Regions from separate parts of the Homo sapiens genome. Here regions 2 and 3 are each linked to region 1. Evidence: promoter capture Hi-C in 16 types of primary human blood cells and fetal thymus (Javierre and others, 2016). All regions are on one chromosome and are shown on one strand. The core of a region is centred on a gene start or on the middle of the fragment in contact, and the rest is flanking DNA. Distances in the headings are between cores, read along the strand shown.

Region 1 (3,194 bases), core at 392-2,891:
GATCCTAAATGTCAATACACAGCTCCTCCCATAGGCACTTCCCACACGGTGCTAGCTCAGGGCCTCATTCTCAGTGCCCTCTGCCCCCAGCTGCCTAAGCTTGTCAGCCCTAGCTGGTCTGGAACAGACTCTTATTCCCTTTCTCTCAGTCTACAATGACTTAGCTTTCCTCCCCATTCCTATATAGATACAGCTTAGAAAACACCTCCTGGAAAATGCAGCCAGTGGCCTTTAGGTGATGCCCTCAAGCTGAGCAGAACCCAAAGAAGGCTTTAGGTGGCTCAGATCACACCTGTGAGTTTATATTCATTCATTCAAGATAACCAAAGCCCTATTCTGGGCACCAAGGAAATAAGGAGAGAGAGGGTCAGTATCTGAAGAGGAGAGAGACTTCCTCATCCTCAAAACTTTCATATGAAGTCAGCCTATCTCATGAGCCCTGGAGGCAGGAAGAGGCCACCAAGGTGGATTCAAAAGCCCTTTCCGACAGTTATGTTTTGAGAATCTTAATTTTCTGGGATCTGAAGTTCTTTGATGAAAGACAGAAGCCCACAGGCCTGGGCACCCACCCACCCCAGGCACCATGATAGTGTCCCAAATGTCACCACAGCATCCAGTTCTATCAACAATGTGGAACAGCAGACATAGCTGCAGTGTCCATTTTACAGGTGAGGAAACGTGGCCCAAACAGAAAAAGGAACTTGTCTGAAGTTAGCCAGGTATCAAGGCTGCCTGGATCTAAAATCCCAGCCCAGCTCTCCACAGTGTAAGTTTTAGGAGATGGGAGATAATGATCTGACCTGGCTGCCTGAATGCAGTAGCAGAAAGGAGCCCTGGGGCTGAGCTGGTGGGACCAGCTTCCATCAGATGGACATGGCATGGTGAGGCCTGTCTTTCCAAGGGCTGGTGCTGCTGCTTGCTCCACGCGGACCACGAAGACCACGAGGGCAGCAAAGAGGGCAATTTTAATGGCATCTGGTACCGGGGCTTTGGGGGAGGAAGTCTGTGGTTCCGGTGTTAACAGTGGTGCCAGAGACCTCTGTAATCTGCCGCCTCCGCCAGGTGGAGTCTGGGCTCTGCCCCTGCTGAGCCTCTCCCCACCGGACACTCAACCTCAGCCTTGGCTGCCACAGCTAGTCTGGTCTGAGGGGGAGGGCCCCGCCCGACTCAACTGAGGGGAGGCCATTCCAAGTAGAATCGTTAGTTGGACACAGTTCCCGGGGGGATGGAAATGTCAAAGGCAACTCGATCCGGCCCATCTCCCTCTCCTGCCAGGCGACGGTATCCGCGGGGATCGAGTGACTGCCTACATAGCCTGGAATACTCCACAGCCGCCCTCCCTACCCCGCCCTGAAGGCTATACTGTCCGAAGGGGCCGACCGAGGTCAAGGGACCTGTCGCCCCGCGGGAATCGCGGCCGTGGGATGGGCCCAGGTGTTCAGGCTCGCTCCACCCATTCATCGGTGGGAGCGAAAGTTCAGGAATCGTGCTCCTTCAGCAGCCCCCCGCCCCCCACAGCCCTCCCGCTGGGCTCACCCATTGCAGTTACAGCCCGGCAGAAGCGGGGGTGAAAGAGCTTCCCGCCGATCCCCTGCGCTTGAACCAGAGTGAAGCTGCCGCCGCGCCGCGCGGGGCTCTGTCTGGCAGGGCACAGCCCCTCCTCGGGTCCCGCCCTGGGGTTCCTCGGCCACGCCCCAGTCATCCAGTCTCGTCTCGGGCCTCAGAGTCCAGCCCTGCCCTTGACGTTCGACCCCTCCTCCCAGGTTATCAGGCGGATCTGTGGCCCCGCCCCTCAGCCCCACCTTCCTCCCACCGCTCTGTGCTCTGCCCCTGGCATTTCAGGCTTGCTCAGTCCTGCGCCCCGCGGCTCCGACTCCCGCCGGCGGGCCCGCCCCTCCTGGGCCACTGCTAACCCGCAAGCGGGCGGGGCTCGGCCCCAGGCCTGCTGGGACATGTAGTTCTGCAGAAAGGAGCAGCTGCGGAAGGTTGGGGTTCTTGCACCTCTAGGCTAGGTTTGGAATGAGGATGAGAGGGAGAGAGCTGCAGGGTAAAGGAGCAGAGCTGGCCATTGGAATTCCTTCCTTCCCGGTTTGGACAGGTGGAGGCCATATCGGTATAACGCTCTCACAAGCCCTCAGCTTTCCATACGGAAAAGTGGTGGCGGAATTCCGCGAGTATCTCAGCTCCCAATGCAGGTGCTTCCAATCGAGGGCCCCACGGAGGGAGCTGTAGTTCCAACCCGCCGCGAGTCCAAGCTGTCGGTTCCCACCGGACCAAACCAGCGGTGTCCGAGGTCAGGGACTGAGAAGACCGGTTTCTGCTCGGTGTTTTGCAACGTCACCCGCCTCCCAGACCGCTACCCCCAGACTAGTTATTTATAGGGTCCAGCCCCTCCTCCTAAGTTACAGCCTTTAGTTAGAAATGCCCAAGCTGCGGGAAAGTGGGTGTGCCCCGCCATGCCCCTCTCCCCGGGGGCTGGGCAAGACTCTGAGGTTTCATTTCTTTTTTATTTTATTTTATTTTTATATTTATTTATTTTTGAGTTTCGTTCTTGTTGCCCAGGCTGGAGTACAATGGCACGATCTCAGCTCACTGCAAACTCCGCCTCCCGGGTTCAAGCAATTCTCCTGCCTCAGCCTCCCAAGTAGCTGGGATTACAGGCACGCACCACCGCGCCTGGCTAATTTTGTATTTTTAGTAGAGACAGAGTTTCACCATGTTGGTCAGGCTGGTCTCAAACTCCTGACCTCAGGTGATCTACCTGCCTCGGCCTCCCAAAGTGCTGGGATTACAAGTGTGGGCCACCGCGTCCGGTCTTTATTTTTTTGAGAGAGGGTCTCGCTCTGTCGCCCAGGCTGGAGTGCAGTGGCGTTAACATAGCTCACTGCAGCCTCAATGTCCTTGGTTCAAGCTATCCCCTCCCGCCTCAGGCTCCTGAGTAACTTGGACCACATGTGTGTGCCACCATACCCTGCTAATTTTTAAATTTTTTTGTAGAGAAGGGGTCTCTTTATGTTGCCCCAGCTGGTATCGAATTCCTGGGCTCAAGTGATCCTCCTGCCTCTGCCTCCCAAAGTGGTGAGATTACAGGTGTGAGCCTCTGCACCCAGCTGGTTTCATATCTATTTGATGCAGAAATAAAAATACTGAAGATCACAGAGATTTTAGAATGGCCCCTTCTCGCTCCCTGAGGG
Region 2 (3,194 bases), core at 184-2,683, 330 kb before region 1:
GATACGGGAGAGCTTAGGTATCATGTTCAACTTCCTTCCACCTTTCACAAACTGGCACTAAAACGGATACACAATTCACAGTGAAAAGTGAGGAATGCAATAACTAGTCGCATACCCCTTGTTGAAAAAAGTGCTGTCACAACGGAAGAGGAATATAAGAACTGGGTTCACCCAAGAAATTATATGCCCTTCAAATAAAAGATAATCTTTGGATACCTTATGGAGACCTGAAAAAACCCTCAACTAGCTGAGCACCGTGGTGCACACTGTAATCCCAGATACTCAGGAGGCTGAGGTGAAAGAATCGCTTAAACCCAGGAGCTGGAGGCCAGCCTGGGCAACATATGGAGACCATATCTCTAAAATTAATAGTAATTTTTTAAAATCTCTCAACTGTTAGGATACACTGGTGCTGTAGAAAGACAATAAGCCTAAATACTGGCAAACCATATACCTTCCTTGAATGTGAGGTAAAAACAATATCCAATAGAAGTGGTAGTAAATGACTGGATTACATCAAACAGGAAATAACAGTAATAATGATGGGATCAACCCCTAAAGCGAGCAAGCATTAGAGACCAGAGTGGTGACAGTTGAGATGCGTGGGCAACTAATTAGACTAAAAACTCAGGGGAAAATGTGGAAAAGCCGAGTGGGAAAGTGATTCAGAGGCAAACAACTGAGTTGTAATGCACCAATGAAAGAATAACATTTTGAGTATGTATTATTAACAGAGAGAGCTTTGCCGTTTACAAAGCGCTCAAAAACCTACATTAAATAATGAACTGTGATATAACCAGACTACAGGAACGGCGGGTGTGGAGGAAAACTGAGTCCCAATTGAGACCAATGCCCTACAGAATTGAAAAGAAGTAGAACTGAACTGTGACTCCGGGTAAGCCAGGAAAGGTTAGAGAGCGCATAAGTTGGGGCTATAACAGGGCCAGTCCCAAGACTAGCTACGGGCGTGAAAGCGGAAAGGTGATGAGATGGGACCGACAGCGTGGCGGGGAAGCTCCAGTCTACTGGCAGGCACCGAGGTGGGAGAGAAAACCACACCCTCCAGGGCAGAAACCCGAAAGGGGGGAGGGGAGGCACCCCTGGGGCTGGGTGGGGCCCAGCCGACCTGGACGGGGGAAAGTAGGAAGAAGCACAGGGCAACGTGAGGGGAAGAGGAAGGAGGGAGCCCGGGCCTGGACGTAGAGGGACCGTGGACCTGGCGAGTGAAGCTCGGCCCGGTCCTCACGGGTGGGCGCCGGGGCAGTCTGCAGGCGGTGGGGTTTCAGACGAGCTGAACCCAGAATTAGAAAGCACACGCTGCAGCGCTCAGGGCCCTGGAAGAGGGAAGGAGAGGGAGAGGATGGCAATTACCGCTGCTGCTCTCGGAGGACCCAAGACCCGCTGCCGCCGCCGCCGCTCGTTACCTGCCAATGTGCCTCTTACAAAGCGGCGGCGGCGGCACAGGCTGCCCAACCCGTCACGTGACCTCGCGTCACGGGCGAAGGAGGAGCCACAACACGTCGCTCGTGCGCGGCTTCAGAGTCAGCCTAGGCGGCGCGCGGCCTCTTCCAGCCACCACCTCCACCCCAACCCCGCGAAGCCAACCGCGTGGAGGTGGGGACCACAGAAAGGAACAAATAAGGGAGACTTGATAATATGTATTGTACTCGGAGTCATCAGGAGAGTATTACCCACCGCATACAAGGTGCCCACAACTGCAGCTCGTCGTCGCGCCGTGATGACCTCACAAAGCACCACAGGTTACTCCCCTGTGGCCGCCCTGTGCTCATCACGTGATGTGGTCCAACCACTCAGGGCAAGCCTGGCCTCCCAAATGTTGCACGAGGGGACCACGACTCCCAACATGCTGCACAGCCAAGGCGACCCCTACCGCAGCCTTTCTCCAGCGGGCTTCTAGACGAACCCCCTAGAGACCTTAGAGCCGAGGGAAGGCCGGGACGGAAAGCGGACTAAGCTGGCTTGAAGGACTAATACCATTGGATGCCGCCCGCCATGTGGCGGAGCGTGGTGCCTGCTGGGAGGTGTAGTCCTGGCGGGGGGTGGGGTTCCGCTCCCACGTTCCTGGGCTCGCTCTGCGCCCTGCCCCCTGCGCGGGAAAACGCCAACGGCTAGCAGCGAGAGCCTCGGCAAGGCGGAAGGTGCGCCCACTTTTAGTCTTTTTCAGTGCGGTTTTACTTTTGCCCTCCCAAGCCCCTTCTGGGTGAAAAGACTAGAATCTACTGAACGCCTACTCCAAGTCAGCCGTTTATTTCTGTTATATCATATAATCAACTCCTTGAGTCCAGGATTTTCCCTATTTAAGGATTTAAAAAAAGAACCTTAGAGTTGTTTGTTGACCGAAGAGACCCAGGTTTTCTGTCTTTAGAAAATTAATGACCTCCTCTCAATAGGATCTGACCTGTTGTCAACTCCAAGAATTACGAATAAATAAGATGATGGTTTATAATTGTAGCATGGTGTTTTAAAGTATTTTCCATTTACTGGCCTGTTTGGATGTGAGGGCGTTCTGGCTATCTTGTCACCCCATAGATCGCCAGGGCTGATTCGGCTGATCTGGCTGTCTAGGCGGGTGGCCCCTTCCTCCCGCACCTCTCCATGTGCGTCCCTCCCGAAGCTGCATATTCGGTCGAAAAGGAGGAGCATCCCCCATAGAAGAGGACAAGTCAAGGATATAGGAGTAGCTGCACGCCCGTGTTAACAAGCTCTCAAGGTCCTCTAAACAAGCTCTCAAGGTCTACTTACTGGCCTGTTTTATCCCAAGCTAGTTACATACAAGGACTTTGCAGTCCCGGCATGCCTTATCTCAATTGGAGCTTTCCTCTGTAATAACACTTCACCGGCTTGTGAAAATTAAATGAGATTATGTAAAATGCCTGCTTGACACATAATAAACCCTCAGTAAGTATCAGTAATCATTTTCACACTCTACCCATCGGGCCCAAAAGGTCTAAGTAAGGTAGAAAGGGGAAATTAGCTTATACTGAACTTTGTACAGGGCACTATGCTAATTACTAATTTGCTAGTTATTAAGTAAAACAATTGACATCTTAAACAGCCCTATCTAGTTCAAATAAAGCCTTTGTTATTCATCTGAATTAAAGAATGCTGCCGGGCGTGGTGGCTCACACCTGTAATCTCAGCACTTTGGGAGCCGGAGGAGGGCGGATCACAAG
Region 3 (3,194 bases), core at 356-2,855, 280 kb before region 1:
AGTGGCTCACGCCTGTAATCTCAGCACTTTGGAAGGCCGAGGTGGGTGGATCACAAGGTCAAGAGATCAAGGCCATCCTGGCCAACATGGTGAAACCCCGTCTCTACTAAAAATACAAAAATTAGCTGGGCGTGGTGGTGTGTGCCTGTAGTCCCACCTACTCGCGAGGCTGAGGCAGGAGAATCACTTGAACTCAGAAGGCAGAGGTTGCAGTGAGCTGAGATCACGCCACTACACTCCAGCCTGGCAAAAGAGCGAGACTCTGTCTCAAAAAAAAAAAACAACAACAACAAAAAAAAAGTAGAGCTTTCTAAAAGAACATGGAAACTACTAACTAATATCCTGACTGGTGGCTCCCAACAAAGGCTTCTGTGGCCACACATTTGTCTGTGGTGTTTGAAAGTCTAGTGCCCTTTTGTGTCACTCCCCCCACACCCCTTTTTTTTTGAGACAGAATTTCGCGCTCATTGCCCAGGCTGGAGTGCAATGGTGCGATCTCAGCTCACCGCAACCTCCGCCTCCCAGGTTCAAGCAATTCTCCTGCCTCAGCCTCCTGAGCAGCTGGGATTACAGGCATGCGCCACTGCGCCCGGCTAATTTTGTATTTTTAGTAGAGACGGGGTTTCTCCATATTTATTGGTCAGGCTGATCTCAAACTCCCGACCTCAGGTGATCCACCCGCCTCGGCCTCCCAAAGTGCTGGGATTACAGGCGTAAGCCACCACGCCTAGCCATCGCTCCCCTTTTTGAACACACTTCCAAATGTTCCATACAGAGCACTATACCTGTTTGGAAACCAACAAAGAAACTGAAAGTCAGAACCCATATGCAGTGCAGCTGTAGGCCTGAGGTGCACACAGGGACTCTTACCACTGCCTCGCTCCCTGGAACAGACAGACTTGACGTTGTATGATGGCTGCCGTGGATCCAAGAAGGAGACATGAGCTTGGGAGCCCACTGCATAAACTGACCATTCACTACCATAAGCCAGACACACATTCTCACGGCAATATGGCAGTTTGGTGGAGAGGAGCTGAAAATAGAGGAGAGATATAACCATGGCATCAGCAGAGAGGGTAAGGCAGGGATATTGTTTCTGGACTCCCACCTTGATGGGCTTCCCTCATATAAAAGCCACATAAAATCAAGCCCTGATTACAGAAATAACACTCTGTTCCACCCCTAGGTATACAGGAGAAAGAGGAGGTGAATGTTAATAAACGGTAAGACCTAGATACTGAAGGAGATAGGTTGGGGAAAAGGTAAATCTGGAATAAATAATCAGAAGTAGCTGGAAAGGCCAAGGCCTTTCTTGGTAGGCTGTTTCAACTATTCAGGTTGTTTCTGGGAATCGTTCCAGGGCACTAAAGCCATAGTCCCACTCTGTTCTGTCTGCCAGGAAGGGCCACCTCAGTGCTTTTCAGATAAAGAGGCTGATCTCTGGCTACCCCCAGCTCACCTTCCCACCTGAATGGGAATTGTACGCTATAGAAAGCACGCCCATGGGACTAGCTTAATCCCAGATAACCCACATCAGCCTTAACCCTGGGTCTTCGTCAGTTAGCAAATCCTCAGTGGGTGCATACAACACATAAGACAGCATACAAGGTCAGTGGAGCTCAAAGGCTATTGTGACATGAAGGAATCACTAATTCCTGGAACCCTGCTTCCTCTTGCAAAGTCCTCAAGGATAAGAAGAAGAGAAAAAGCTGGGCGTGGTGGCTAACGTCTGTAATCCCAGCACTTTGGGAGGCTAAGGCAGGCAGATCACCTGAGGTCAGGAGTTTGAGACCAGGCTGGCCAACCTGGTGAGATGCCATCTCTACTAAAAATACCAAAAATTAGCTAGGGGTAGTGGTGCATGCCTGTAATCCCAGCTACTCAGGAGGCTGAGGAAGGAGAATCACTTGAACCTGGGAGGCGGAGGTTGCAGTGAGCTGAGATCGTGCCACTGCATTCTAGCCTGGGCAACAAAGTGAGACTCTGTCTCAAAAAAAATAAAAAAAAGACAAATGATTCACAGGTAGGTTTAACTCTATGTAAAAGTTGCTTGTTGAATCTCCCTTATCCAAAAGGCTTGTGACTACAAATGTTTTGAATTTCGGATTTCTCCAGCTTTTTTTTTTTTTTTTTGAGACGGAGTCTCGCACTGTCGCCCAGGCTGGAGTACAGTGGCGCGATCTCAGCTCACTGCAAGCTCCACCTCCTGGGTTCACACCATTCTCCTGCCTCAGCTTCCCGGGTAGCTGGGACTACAAGCGCCCACCACCACGCCCGGCTAATTTTTTGTATTTTTAGTAGAGACGGGGTTTCACCATGTTAGCCAGGATGGTCTCAATCTCCTGACCTTGCGATCCGCCCACCTTGGCCTCCCAAAGTGCTGGGATTATAGGCGTGAGCCACCGCACCCGGCCCCGATTTTTAAATATCTACATATATGTAAGGAGCTATCTTGGGGATGGCACCCAAGTCTAACCACAAAATTCATTTATGTTTCATATACATCTTATACACATAGAGTGAAGGTAATTTTATGCAATATTTTAAATAATTTTCTGCATTAAACAATGTTTGGTACACTGACCTGTCAGAAAGCAAAGGTGTCCCATGTGAAATTTTCCATTTGTGGCATTGTGTTGGTGCTCAAAAAGTTTTGGACTTTGGAGGCTTTTTTTTTTGAGAGAGAGTCTTGCTCTGTTGCCAGGCTGGAGTGCAGTGGCATGATCTCGGCTCACTGCAACCTCTGCCTCCTGGGTTCAAGCGATTCTCCTGCCTCAGCCTCCCAAGTATCTGGGACTACAGACGCCCACCACCACGCCCAGCTAATTTTTGTATTTTTAGTAGAGACGGGGTTTCGCCATGTTGGCCAGCATGGTCTCAATCTCTTGACCTCATGATCCACCTGCCTCGGCCTCCCAAAGTGCTGGGATTATAGGCGTGAACCACCGCGCCAGGCCTTTTTTTTTTTTTTTTTTTTTTTTTTGAGATAGGGTCTCGCTCTGTCACCCAGGCTGGAGTGCAGTGGCAAAATTACGGCTCACTGCAGCCTTGACCTCCTCAGCTCAAGTGGTCCTCCTGCCTCAGCACTGCTACCCTCCAGTAGCTGGGACTACAGGCATATGCCACAATGTATGGCTAATTTTTAAATTTTGTTGCAGAGATAGGGTCTTACTGTGTTGCCCAGGCTAGTTTTG

The links. Contacts are between HindIII fragments. The CHiCAGO score rates a contact against its expected background, and 5 or more counts as called.
Region 2: a contact is called between the fragment with the promoter of UBAP2 here and the fragment with the promoter of MYORG in region 1, in 2 of 17 cell types (neutrophils and M0 macrophages). The highest score is 5.9, in neutrophils.
Region 3: a fragment that was not itself captured here is called in contact with the fragment with the promoter of MYORG in region 1 in 3 of 17 cell types (endothelial precursors, M0 macrophages and M2 macrophages); the score reaches 7.6 in endothelial precursors.

The regions. Positions count from the first base shown.
Region 1 is chr9:34,375,257-34,378,450 of GRCh38, forward strand. It overlaps MYORG (myogenesis regulating glycosidase), which reads right to left and starts at 1,642. Exons shown (of 2, transcript NM_020702.5): 1 at 1,537-1,642. RefSeq lists enhancers at 409-990, 991-1,571 and a silencer at 1,617-2,006. The HindIII fragment of the contact is 6,785 bases long and covers 98-3,194 here.
Region 2 is chr9:34,047,454-34,050,647 of GRCh38, forward strand. It overlaps UBAP2 (ubiquitin associated protein 2), which reads right to left and starts at 1,434. Exons shown (of 29, transcript NM_001370062.2): 1 at 1,372-1,434. It also overlaps the pseudogene RN7SKP114. RefSeq lists enhancers at 544-1,400, 1,401-2,256, 1,537-2,066, 2,257-3,113, 3,114-3,194 and silencers at 1,217-1,266, 1,417-1,506. The HindIII fragment of the contact is 37,851 bases long and covers 1-3,194 here.
Region 3 is chr9:34,092,416-34,095,609 of GRCh38, forward strand. It overlaps DCAF12 (DDB1 and CUL4 associated factor 12), which reads right to left. Exons shown (of 9, transcript NM_015397.4): 7 at 871-1,033. Among named protein-coding and RNA genes, the nearest start is that of DCAF12, 33 kb to the right of the region's middle. The HindIII fragment of the contact is 3,819 bases long and covers 1-3,194 here.